4 separate regions of the Homo sapiens genome follow, and all the other regions are linked to region 1. The links are contacts of gene promoters, found by promoter capture Hi-C in human tissues and cell types (Jung and others, 2019). All regions are on one chromosome and are shown on one strand. The core of a region is centred on a gene start or on the middle of the fragment in contact, and the rest is flanking DNA. Distances in the headings are between cores, read along the strand shown. Region 1 holds the start of METTL14 (methyltransferase 14, N6-adenosine-methyltransferase non-catalytic subunit). Region 2 has its middle 150 kb from the start of METTL14-DT. Region 3 has its middle 140 kb from the start of METTL14-DT. Region 4 overlaps SEC24D (SEC24 homolog D, COPII component).

Region 1 (3,104 bases), core at 431-2,930:
GATTTCCTGCCTGTGCCTCCTGTGGGCAGAGTCTTACAGGAAGCCATCTAACAAGGAAGGCTGGGAAATGTAGTTTGTGGACTCCCTGCCTAGCCATCATCTCGAAGCAGAGGGTAGGTGAGTATGGGGTTCAAAGATTACAAGCAAGTAACCTGCATAGCAACTTATCAGGAAAAAGAAAAATCCTCCATTAGACAGTAAACTCATAAAGAAAAACCGACTTTAGTTTTTAATCTTTGACAGACTTTATAGACTCTAGGGCCTATCACAGTGCTTGCCATATAAAATGCTCAATCAATATCAACAGATATTTAAGTGAATAATTGCCTATTCTCACCATTGGTAAAATTTAAATCAGTATTCAACTTAAATGATTGCCAGATAATACAACTGATTTTTAAAGAAATACACTTTAACTCATATGGACATAAATATTTTACAGTATCCAAGTAGTGCTGACATTACTCAAGGAATTGTTTAGGACTACTTGTTCAAAATTGTCTTTCAGACCTAGTTCTTCGGAAATACATTATAATTATTTCTATAAAAGTGGGCATGACTAAGTAGAATCTAGTCTTGCCCACTTTTGGCCCAGCCTGACTCAACTGGTTTTGATCTGGATGACTTAATATTATTTCTGAAAATTAAATCTACTCTGAAAGAACAGACTTATTACTAATTTTGTTAAGTACTTACCGCGATTTCCAATTAAACTTGAGGCAACATGATGTCTTACTCCACTTCCGCCACTGTAGGCTTGAAATAAGATGGCAAGTGTGGTGAATAATAATGGTAATAACTCAAATAAGACTTTGGCCTTTGCTGCCATCCTATGAAGACAGAATCACCACCCCCCAGCCCTCACCCCTCACCCCCGCAATCCGAGTAATTTCAGGAAGCTATTTGTTTCCTTATCCTTGGGTTATTTTCAGTTAAGACAAATGTACAAGCACAAAAAGGAGTCTCTTAGCTTCTGACTCCTAGGACATAAACCAAGACACGCTTTACTATCACATACTCATTTCCCTAAAGGGAAGAAGCCAAAAAATGCATACTATAGTAAAATGGGAAACATTTCAAGGGACAGTAAGGTGTGGGGAAGAGTGGGCAGATGTTGTGGCTGTTACCTGCGTGAAGGTAAATAAAATATTAACAATAACAAGCACTTCTACACCGCTATGTGCAAGGTGCTATTTATCCTTTCAATCACAGCTCTGTGAGGTAGACACTTATGACTCCCATTTTACAGATGACAAAACTGAGGCTCACGAAGGTGGTTAACTAGCCAAGGCCACTCGTCTAGGAAGTGAGAGGCCAAGGTTCAATCCTAGGCAATCTGGCTTAAGTTTGTGTTCTGTTAAAAAAAAAAAAATTAAAGGTTATCTGGCAATTTTTTAAACGTCAGGACTGTCATCTGTGGAATCAATTGAAAAGGGAATCAACACTTCAGAAACTGTAATACACCAAGGGAACCTGCTATCCTGGGAAAGAGAGATAAAGGAGAAGTCAGCTGACTGTCCTCCTTCAGACTAGCTCAGACCACCCCAACCTGCGAGGGCCCTGGAGACCCCTGTGGCGCAACAGATCCCTTACTGGGTCCCTTCCAAGTGGCGTCACATAGCAAGCGTCCAGAAGGAGGCGGGACTTCCGGGCCAAGCGAGCCAATTCCGGCCGCGCCGGAAGTCTCTACTGAGGAAAGCTATGAGGATACTCTGTTCGTAAGCTCCCGGTGAATTTTGTTCCACAGACTCGGAAGAAAGGTTGGATAAGAGTTCACTGGAGATTGACAAGTACTCGGGATAGTGAAAAGCCGGAGTTGGAACATGGATAGCCGCTTGCAGGAGATCCGGGAGCGGCAGAAGTTACGGCGACAGCTCCTCGCGCAGCAGGTCCGCGGCCCTGGTGTCCCCTGTGGGAGGGATCGAGAATGCGAGTGCGCGGCCGCCTCCTCCCTCCACACCCCGCCTTTTTCTGTCCCTTCTCTACCTGCCGCTGTTAAGGCCTTTCTGGTCCTGCGATCTTGATCCCTGGTTCTGCCTTTGTAGTTCTCAATTTTCGCGGTGTCCCGAATGTTTTTCCAGTTCCTTCCGCGGTCTTTGTGGTGCTAAACCGAATGCCAGGATTAGCCTTTAAGCTTTGTGGAACTCCCACCGAGTGTCTGGCATGTTCACGCCAGGATGAGTGTCATGTTATCCCCTACATTTCTCTTCACTATTAAATGGTCATCTATTTCTTTCTTTTCTTCGTCGTCAGCCCCAAATTCTTGAGATTGTGGTTTCATTATGAAATACGTTTACAGTATTTTCTTTGACATCTTTCTGAAGACAACACTGGAAGTAGCCTGAGTGTAAATTTTAGATTCTGCATCTTATATAGAGTATCCTTGTCACATCCACAGTTAATATTTGAAATCTTACTCTGTGTTAGTCACAATAATCTCCTGAAACAGGTATTATTACCTTCACTTATCAAGTAATGAAAAAGGCTCCATACGTTAAGGAATTTTACTCCTGGTCGCTCACTTCTCTGCTGGGAAATAGAACCTAGGTTTGTCTCCCCAAAGCTTGTCTTCTAAACCATTGTCCTTCACTTCTTTCTTGTGTATGAGTAAGTTAACATTTGCTGATTAGTAGAGTGCACATGCAGAAAATACAGATTGTGCACAGTTCTACTTAAAATCGAGGCTGTATTTTCCATTCTACTATTCAGATCAGTAAAAGTGATAGGAGCAATGCTCATAGAGTGTAATTAGTCATCTTGCAGTTATTTTTCAGTAATGAAACTTGGTTTTAGTAAATGGACTTCTGAAACCTATCCTCTTTATGGTCTGATGAACAGATTTGTGGAATATGGCTAAAACCGTGGAAACTTGGAGTCAGATTTGTTCCTTTGTTCCTTATCCCGCTGGCATTACGATCTTGGGCAAATCAAGTATCCTTTCTAAGTCTTCTTTTCGCCAACTTCTTTTATCGTATTATCTTCAAAAATGTTAAGTAGCTCTTTGTTGCTACCACAGAAGACGTTTTACTCCTTAATATTGAATTCAAACTTCTATTTGACTCAATATACATTCATAGGACAATTATTTGTTTAGTGTTTTACAC
Region 2 (3,104 bases), core at 333-2,832, 150 kb before region 1:
GTTATTTTATTTTGAGACAGAGTCTCACTCTGTCACCCAGGCTGAAGTGTAGTGGTGCGATCTCAGCTCACTGCAACCTCTGCCTCCCAGGTTCAAGCAATTCTTGTGCCTCAGCGTCCTGAGTAGCTGGGATTATGGGTGTACACCACCACGCCTTGCTAATTTTTTTTGTATTTTTAGTAGAGATGGGGTTTCACCATGTTGGCCAGGCTGGTCTCAAACTCCTGAGCTCGGGTGATCCGCCCACCTCGGCCTCCCAAAGTGCTAGGATTACAGGCATGAGCCACCGCGCCCAGCTGATACTGATACCAAATAAACTTTGTTGAATAAATGATGCCTGGAGTCTTCCCAAATTTGTCTATATCTCCTTTGTTTTTTGTTGTTGTTGTTTTGTTGGATTTTTTTTTTTTTTTTGAGACAGAGTCTCACATTCTGTTGCCCAGGCTGGAGTATAGTGGCATGATCTCGGCTCACTGCAACCTCCACCTCCCAAGTTCAAAGGATTCTCCTGCCTCAGCCTCCCGAGTAGCTGGGACTACAGGCGCATGCCACCATGCCTGGCTAATTTTTTGTAAAAGTAGAGACAGGGTTTCACCACGTTGGCCAGACTATTCTTGAACTCCTGACCTCAAGTGATCCACCTACCTCAGCCTCCCAAAGTGCTGAGATTACAGGCGTGAGCTACTGTGCCCAGCCTCTTTTGTTTTTTAAAAGATACCTAGCTCATTATCAGTAGGCCCTGAATAGTTTAAATGCTTAAGATTCCAAATTGAAAATTTTTAAGTCAAACTCTAAAAATTTTTACGTAGAAATTCCTTGTCTTAGCCCCATTTTTACCTAGCTACAGTTATTTTTTTTGGGAAAAAAATTAGGATGTGAGAGATTGTATTTCTGTTTTATCATAATAGCATTATTCACTGTATAAGATACAATCATCCAGTAATGAAACATTTCAAGGATCCATATATGGAAGTCAGTATTGCTTGTTTATATTCACACCTGCATATGTTGATTTCATTATACAATATTTTACCTCATTTTGAAAGTCATGGTTTAAGATACAGAACTCATGTGAATCACATTTCTAGGAAACCTTAAGTGAATTTCTTAAGATCTGCTTGAGCTGTTTACAGTGGTAACACATCTGTATGAAAGGCATGTCAAGAAGAACAGAGATGTGGCTTCACAACAAGCCAAAGGCTGTATTAAAATTATGTGCTGTCTAATAAAAAAGAAAGAAGATATCTAGTTAAGTGGCAGAATAGCATAAATGTGGTTATGTTCATTGCTTTTAACAGCTGAGAAAAATAATCTTGAATAATGGGCCAAAACCAGGAAAAGGCTTCAGGGGAAAATGTAGTTACAAGTACTTACAAGGCATGTACATTTTTTAAAATTATAGCCTTATCACATTCAAGCCACATCTGGGTACTTTTTTATATACTAATAAAAATACTGTATTTTTATTTGTAGGCAGTGTAGTAATAAGAATACTGTCTTTTATTTGGAGATAGCATTTCCAAGTATGTATTTGACCTTGCTAAGCATTCATGCTTCGTAGCCAATGATACTGAGCATTCCATCTGGAGTGCCTCTAGATAGGGGATTCACAATTGGTCTTTACTGGTTAGGGGGGATTCACAATTGGTCTTTACTGGTTAGGGAACATCCAGAACTTTTTGCTCATGCACAAAGTAAAAACCTTATATGTCCTGTTATATAAGTCCAGTTGGTGCCTGCATTCGTGTACTTTTTAACTTGACTTCTTACTCCCTCTGTGTGCTAGTATAGGGTCTCTTACAAGTGTACTTTTTCCTACATTGTATAAGCAATGAGAATTTTAAATGAAGTGAAGTTAATTTGCTAATATCTTGGGGTTTTTTTTTTTTTCTTCCCATGCCTTGTAAACCTTAAACCACTATACTTGTTCTATTTGAGGTGCAGGGGAGAGCATGAGTGAGTAATCACTTAGAAGGACAAATACAAGCTAAACCAAATACTTAAACGAAATTTGTTTTTACCTATGGAAATAAAAAAATTTTTTAGCCACATGCTTATGGATTTTTACTTTATACCTGCCTTTGCAATTTTGGGGCCTGATACAAGATCCTTGACTCTTTAAAAATAATGTGGCTCTTCATTATTTGGCTGACTGGCTTTTATACCATTAGAAGGAATTGGGAAGGAGAGGGGTCGCTAATCTCTTCTGCGTTCTTCTTCCCGAATCTCATTACCGTGACCTCTGTTCAGATTAAAAGTCTCCCTGGTGCATCCTATTATAAATCATACTTTTTTATGAATCGCTGACCATATTTGTCACCATTGGGGAGGCAAATAAACCTAAAACACAGAGCCTGTGTTCCAAACGAGTTCATAATTTATACAAGGATTAAAAGCTAATTCATATCATTCTTACACCTTTGCATCCTCACAGCTTAGCTCCCACTTACAAGTGAGAACGTGTGGTGTTTGACTTTCCATTCCTGAATTACTTCACTTAGAATAATTGACATTAGACTTTTTTTCCTTATATTTTCTTTTTCCAGTTTTCCTGAGTACCTTTCATTTGATATCCCCTCTTTCCTCTTACAAAACTTTTTTTGCTTACTAAACTCTTCTAGATAGTGTGGAAACCATGAGCTTTTCTGGAATGACCCTTAAACGTCTCTCCTTAAACTCATTTTACATTTTAACACTTCTGGTCATTTACAAACTACACTAAATTATTTCTTGAAAGCTGAGTCATTACAGTTATGATCTCTTAGCCAATGTTAAATGTTTGACTTGCGGTCATAAACTTTGGTTTTAGGATTCTAAAGCTAGTATACTTCATTAATAGCCCACCACCGTTGCTTTTTTCCAGTAATATCAAAGGAAACTTAATTCCAGAGGTTCATGTGTGTATCCTCTGGAAAGTTTTACATGTAAAAACGTTTGAAAATGAATTGTGCTATTAAAAAATAGGGCAAATTTTTGGCTGGGCGTAGTGGCTCACGCCTGTAATCCCAGCTCTTTGGGAGACCAAGGCGGGCGGATCACAAGGTCAAGAGATTGAGACCATCCTGGCCAACATGGTGAAACCTCATTGCTACTAAAAATACCAA
Region 3 (3,104 bases), core at 180-2,679, 140 kb before region 1:
GCTTTATCAAAAGTATTTAACTTAATTCTTAAATTATTGAATGAAATAAGCTTTGGAATTTTATGTATTTTCATGCTGAAGTTTAGCTTATTTTGAATCTATAATATAATCTGAATATCACTTTGAAAGCTATGATTTTTTCAGCTTAAAATTGATAAGGACCTTCAAACAAAAACAAGTTCTGATCATTATAGCCTGGTCTAAACTAATTTCTTGGTCTGATTTTCTGATTCTCTAGTATTTAAATATTAAATATTATAGTAAATATTACAGTAAAGTTTATTTCATAATGCCAAAATGACAAGTTTGACTTCTTAGATCTGTTCTATTACATATTACAAATTGTTTTTTGTTTTTTGTTTTTTGTTTTTGAGATGGGCTGGAGTGCAGTGGCATGTTCACAACTCACTCACTCAGTGCAGCCTCGATCTCCCTGGGCACAAGCAATCCTCCCACCTCAGCCTTCTTAGTAGCTAGGACTACAGGCATCTGCACCACACCTGGCTAATTTTTTTGTATTTTTTATAGAGACGAGGTCTCGCCATGTTGCCCAGGCTGGTCTCGATCTCCTGGAATCAAGTGATCCACCCACCTTGGCTTCCTAAAGTGCTAGGATTACAGGCATGAGCCATTGTGCCTGGCCAACAAACTGTATTTTAAAATAAACCATTTATTTCTTCAGGGGGGCATTTTTTTTTCAGGGGCAACCCGTGAAAAACCCATTTTCACCAAAGGTGAAATGTCTATGGTCTAACAGTTTTAGATCCACAAACACTATACTCAGTAGCCATCCTCTGGAAAAATTCACTGAATTTTTAGCACTGTGTGGCTAAACAGAGTCTTTCTCTATTGTATAAGTCCATTACAGTTCTAAGTTGGTCCATGAAATAGTCATTATTTCCTTATTTTCCATCAGTCCTAATGCTGCAAGGACTCTTTTACAAGAACATAATAATTTAGAAAAGATGGCTGGCAAGGGTGTTCATTTTTTTGAGTTTAGAAAATTTAATAAGTAGGCCATAAGAATATTCTTATACCAGATTCTAGACCCGTTGCCACCTTAAGCAAATGTTCCAGACTTGATGTGATGTTAATGAGTTTCATGTTTTTAAATAAGGTAAGTCTGGCATGTTGATCTTTGAAGAAATACCAGCACAAATATTAACTTAGTTTACTACTTAAATGCTGATCAGCTTGCAGTAGTAATACATTTACATGAGGTTATATAGTGTTGTTTAAACTAGATTTCCAGACTTACTGAAAAAATTTTAAAAGAAACCAAAAAAGTAGCTAGTATTTACATCTTTCTAAGACTGCTGAATCATGTCTGATAGACTCTAAAGTGTTAGAAAAGTGTCCCACATTTGAAAGACACGTCAAAATTTTGTGGTCCTTTATTTTATAAGTTATTTGATGTTAGGGTAATGATAGGATAATTATCTTTATTGGCAATTGTTTTTATCAAAAGGATAGCATCCTAATTCCTAATAGGTTATTATGTGCAAGTATACTAACACGAATTAACAATTGTTAAAGAAAAGCACAGTAAGTACTCCCAATTTTTGGTCTTTAAAATAATATAGACACTTTTCTTGATCGATAAGGTGCTTATTCCTATATAAAGAGGTCTTAACAGACACAATTGTTTATACCTAATTCAACCTATTTTCATCTCACTTATTCCTATACTGCATATATTCTGTCTGAATAAAATTGCATTTTCTTTATAAGTGACAGTTACACAGTCTTTTCTCCTTATACCCAGGTGATACATGTTGTTCCCAGATATCCACTGGATGCCTGACACCACAGATAGTTCTAAAACCTAATATACTGTGTATTTTCCTACACATACATGCCTATGATAAAGTTTAATTTATAAATTAGGCACAGTAAGAGATTAACAATAGTAACTAATAATAAAATAGAACATTTGTAACAATATACTGTAAAAAAAAGTTATGTGAGTGTGGTCTTTTCTCTCTCTCTCTCTCTCTCTCCCTCTCCCAAAATACTGTAATAGTTTCGGACCATGCTTGACTGCCACTAACTAAAACCATGGAAAGAGAAACCGTGGATAAGAGGGCATTACTGTATTGTAAATTATAAATATTAAAGTTTTGAGGTCATAACATCATTTACATTTGTTTTATATTTTGTTTTCAATAAAGAATAAGATAAACGGTAAAGAATATATGCATGTATTAATAAGCATTCAATTGGAGCTCATACACATGAATTAATTGGTACTGTTGGCTTAGTATTTTAATTCTCAGTTTATGCAATGGTTGGTTTTTTTTCTTTGTGTACCTTTGAAAAGATACATTGCTTTGGTATTATTAACAAAAAAGTAATAGGTTTTTAAAATATAAAAAGTTATATGCTTATGTTTTTTGATTTATAGAATATTATTTAAAGACAAAGATCGGAATTGGGATGACATAGAAAGCAAATTAAGAGCCGAAAGTGAAGTCCCTATTGTGAAAACCTCGAGCATGGTATAGTAATTTTTCTTGAAGATTAAAACATTTTAATAGGGTTTTATTTTAAGGAAAAGACCCTTATTTTTGAGCTGTTCGTTGATTTGCTTTTTCAAAAGAAGATATAAATGCAAAATTTTGGGAAATTTTATTTCTTCTACTGACTCACAGGTTTAAAATGTTGATTGTTTCAAAGTTGCAGAGGGTATGAAGGAGGAGCCTTTTGTGTTTCTTACTAGTGTAGATTGTTCTTGTAATAATTAAACATTAGAAACATGAAATTTTTAAAGAGAACCAAATCTAACATGAAAATATTAAGTTGACATAAGTCGTTTCCGTTTACTTAATATAATGCTTATCTTCTTTTTAAAAGAATTTGTACAGATTTTCATTGCTCAGAATATAATTATAATATTGAGGTTGCAGTTTATATGTTTTTACAAAGATAATTTGAAGGCATTTTTACATAGTCATTGCAAGGTTGATTAATAAGAATTTTAAAAATCTTTGCGGCCGGGTACTGTGGCTCACGCCTATAATCCCAGCACTTTGTGAGGCCAAGGAGGGTGGATCACTTGAGGTCAGGAGTTGAAGACCAGCCTGGCCAATATGGCGAAACTCTGT
Region 4 (3,104 bases), core at 177-2,676, 130 kb after region 1:
CATACCCCCATCCTGGGCCTATAAAAACCTGAGTTCCTAGTGGGGAGACACAAAGGCAGCCAGACGTGGAGAGGAGCACATCAGCGGATAAAGATACAAGCAGCTGGACAGCGAGAGGACGTGGAGGGAGAATGCCAGTGGAAGAGCACACTGACAGACATGGGAAGAGGCGGAGTTTGGCCGGGGCAGTCGGAGACCCAGGGCCACTGAGTGGTGGGACTCCAGAGGAAAATCATCTCCCTCTGGCTCCCCCACCTGCTGAGAGCTACTTCTACTCAATAAAACCTTGCACTCATTCTCCAAGCCCATGTGTGATCCAATTCTTCCAGTACAGCAAGGCAAAAACCTGGGATACAGAAATCCCTCTGTCCTTGTGATAAGGAAGGGGTCTAATTGAGCTGGTTAATACAAGTCACCTATAGACGGCAAACTAAAAGAGCACCCTGTAACACACGCCCACTGGGACTTCAGCTGTAAACATTCACCCCTAGACACTGCCATGGGAGTCGGAGCCCCACAGCCTGCCCATCTGTATCCTCCCCTAGAGATTTGAGCTTTGGAGCACTGAAGAAGCGAGCCACACCCCCACTGCATGCCCTCCAAGGGGCACGAGGGAACCTTTTCCATTTCATTACCTCATATGGCAAAATAATTTTATTAAGTTAAGGATCTTCAGAGGAGGAGCTTATCCTGGCCCTGAATGGAATCACATGTATAAGAAAGAGGCAGAGGAATTTTGAGACAGACACCCAGAGAAGAAGACACAAAGAGAAGGAGGACTCAATGTGACCACAGAAGCAGAGACTGGAGTCACATGGTCACAAGCCAAGGAAGACCTGGAGCCACCAGAAGCTGAAAGAGCCTAGGAACAGATTCTCCTCTACAGCCTTCAGGGGCAGCACAGCCCTGCTTAGTCCGTTTTTCATTGCTTATAACACCTGAAACAGTAATTTATAAAGAAAAGACATTTATTTCTTATAGCTATGGAGGCTAAGACGTCCCAGGTTGAGGGGCCACATGTGGTGACAGCCTTCTTCTGGTGGAGACTCTGCAGAATCCCAAAGCGGCACAGAGCATGACATGGCAAAGGGGCTGAGCGTGCTAGCTCAGGTCTCTTTTCTTCTTCTTATAAGGCCACCAGTTCCACTCCCATGATAACCTATTAATCCATTAACCCACTAATCCATGAACGGATTAATCCATTCACAAGGGCAGAGCCCTTACGACCCAATCATCTCTCAACACTGCCACACTGGAGATTAAGTTTCAACATGAGTTTTGGAGAAGACAAATGTTCAAACCACAGCACTTGCCAACATATTGATTTTGGACTTTTGGTCCCCAGAACTGTGAGAGAATACATTTCTGTTGTTTTTAGTCACCTGATTTGTGGTAATTTGTTACAGCAGCCACAGGAAACTAATACATTATCCTAAACCATCCACACTCTAGCCAAGCCTCCAGCTGACCCCAGATGCATGAGCAAGCTCAGCCAAAATCAGATGAACCTGGCCCAGATTAGAAAAACCGGGAACCCACTGGGTCATGAGTATTAATAAACAGTAGTGCTAAGCTACTGTTTTGTAGCAGTTGGTTACACAGCATAAGTTAGCTAATATGGTAGCTTTTCCTGCTCCTTTATTTCTAATTCTTCAAGTACTTATGTTTATCGAACCTATTCAAAGACACAAAATAAACTGTAGCCAATTTCGTTATTATTCCAAAAGGATTTTACATCCCAATGCCATAAGATTGGCAGCTTCCCTGTCTCAGTGACATTGGGCTTTGTTTTATGACTTGCTTCAGCCAAGGGCACATGAGTGGTTATGACACATGCCACACATGAGTGGAAGCTTTAAGAGCTGTTGCACATTTTGGCCAGCTCTGTTTCCTCCCTATGCCACAAAATAGCATGTCCTCAGTAGTGTTTGCCTCTTCACGCTGGATTTTGGAATGATAAGGACGGATGAAGCAGAGCCTAAATCCAATCTGCAGCTGCCACAGCCTACATGTAAACTGAGTGATAAATACATCTTTGCAGTTGTAAGCAAAGTTGGGGATTGTTTGCTATGCAGAATGGCCTTGCAAAGCTTGACTGATAAAATTATTAAAGAGTAACCCTCCAAAGAAATCACTTGAGTGAAGAGTTTAGTTCTAACTTTACATTAAAAAAAATTTGTTTTTTTATTGTGCAAGATGTAAAATATACTTTCAGTCTCTATGGGTTTCTCTTATTGAAAAGGATCCTTTAGTTATCTAAAATAGCATATTTCTATAGGATATAGTCTGTTAATTACTCATTAGATAGCGATACTGCCAAAATATGTCAATGTAAACATTGTAGACACTGCCAAGTTTATATGACACCAAAAAAAAAGAAAAAAAAAATCAGCACAGGCTGCTCTTTCATGGAGACCTTTAGTATGCCCATAACCCTAGCATGCTTTCCCCCATACATGCATATAAGGAAGGAAGCCTTCCCTCTATGTGATGAGTATCTCCTAACTTCTATGCTAATGAACAGGATAAATGCTAACAAACTGATGAGTTGCTGAGAAAAATTAATGCTCCTTTGTGAGTGAGACTGTGAGAGTGAGAAGAGTACTTACTGGGCTAGGGATAGAGTCAGGATCCAGCTTCTTCTGGGGCTGTGGCGGACCAGCCATCTGTGCAGGACCTCCAGGGAAGCCTCCTGGGTAAGACAGTTGTGCGCCTGCCATCTGGGGACCAGAGTTGGCTGCTTGGAAAAAATTTAAAGAGAAATGACTATCATCCCAAATCCAGCATGTAAGACTTGTTGACGATATTATGCTGTTCAGTCAAGCATGTTGTATTTTTCATCTTATTAAAAAAAGCAAGGAGTCAAGTATGAGTGTGGTTCCCCATTTCTTTGCTCTTGCCAAAACTCTTCAAAAACTACCATTTCTTAAAAGTAAGTGACAGATACCTAGTAACATAGGAACAAAGCTGATTTTCAGTTAAGGGTTCCCCTGGGTAACACAAAGCCTTCCCCTGCACCCTGTCCGCCTTACCCTGCTGCGGAGGATATCCAGCACCCAAGGTCTGGCCTGGAAGAGGTGGGGGCTGGTACTGGGCATTTGGAG

The links. Contacts are between HindIII fragments. The study calls those that stand out against the background at their distance.
Region 2: a fragment that was not itself captured here is called in contact with the fragment with the promoter of METTL14 in region 1 in 1 of the 25 tissues and cell types used here (heart right ventricle).
Region 3: a contact is called between a fragment that was not itself captured here and the fragment with the promoter of METTL14 in region 1, in 1 of the 25 tissues and cell types used here (hippocampus).
Region 4: a fragment that was not itself captured here is called in contact with the fragment with the promoter of METTL14 in region 1 in 2 of the 25 tissues and cell types used here (liver and mesendoderm cells).

Annotation. Positions count from the first base shown.
Region 1 is chr4:118,683,712-118,686,815 of GRCh38, forward strand. It overlaps METTL14 (methyltransferase 14, N6-adenosine-methyltransferase non-catalytic subunit), which reads left to right and starts at 1,681. Exons shown (of 11, transcript NM_020961.4): 1 at 1,681-1,889. The coding sequence starts at 1,824. METTL14-DT (METTL14 divergent transcript) reads right to left here and starts at 1,630. Exons shown (of 7, transcript NR_125930.1): 1 at 1,594-1,630; 2 at 697-756. RefSeq lists enhancers at 1,640-1,899, 2,080-2,219. The HindIII fragment of the contact is 10,452 bases long and covers 1-2,348 here.
Region 2 is chr4:118,531,066-118,534,169 of GRCh38, forward strand. It overlaps the pseudogene CEP170P1. Among named protein-coding and RNA genes, the nearest start is that of METTL14-DT, 150 kb to the right of the region's middle. RefSeq lists enhancers at 273-772, 2,014-2,514, 2,515-3,015. The HindIII fragment of the contact is 5,936 bases long and covers 1-3,104 here.
Region 3 is chr4:118,548,675-118,551,778 of GRCh38, forward strand. It overlaps the pseudogene CEP170P1. Among named protein-coding and RNA genes, the nearest start is that of METTL14-DT, 140 kb to the right of the region's middle. The HindIII fragment of the contact is 4,913 bases long and covers 1-3,104 here.
Region 4 is chr4:118,812,419-118,815,522 of GRCh38, forward strand. SEC24D (SEC24 homolog D, COPII component) reads right to left here. Exons shown (of 23, transcript NM_014822.4): 5 at 3,033-3,104; 6 at 2,610-2,737. Among named protein-coding and RNA genes, the nearest start is that of SEC24D, 22 kb to the right of the region's middle. The HindIII fragment of the contact is 4,377 bases long and covers 1-3,104 here.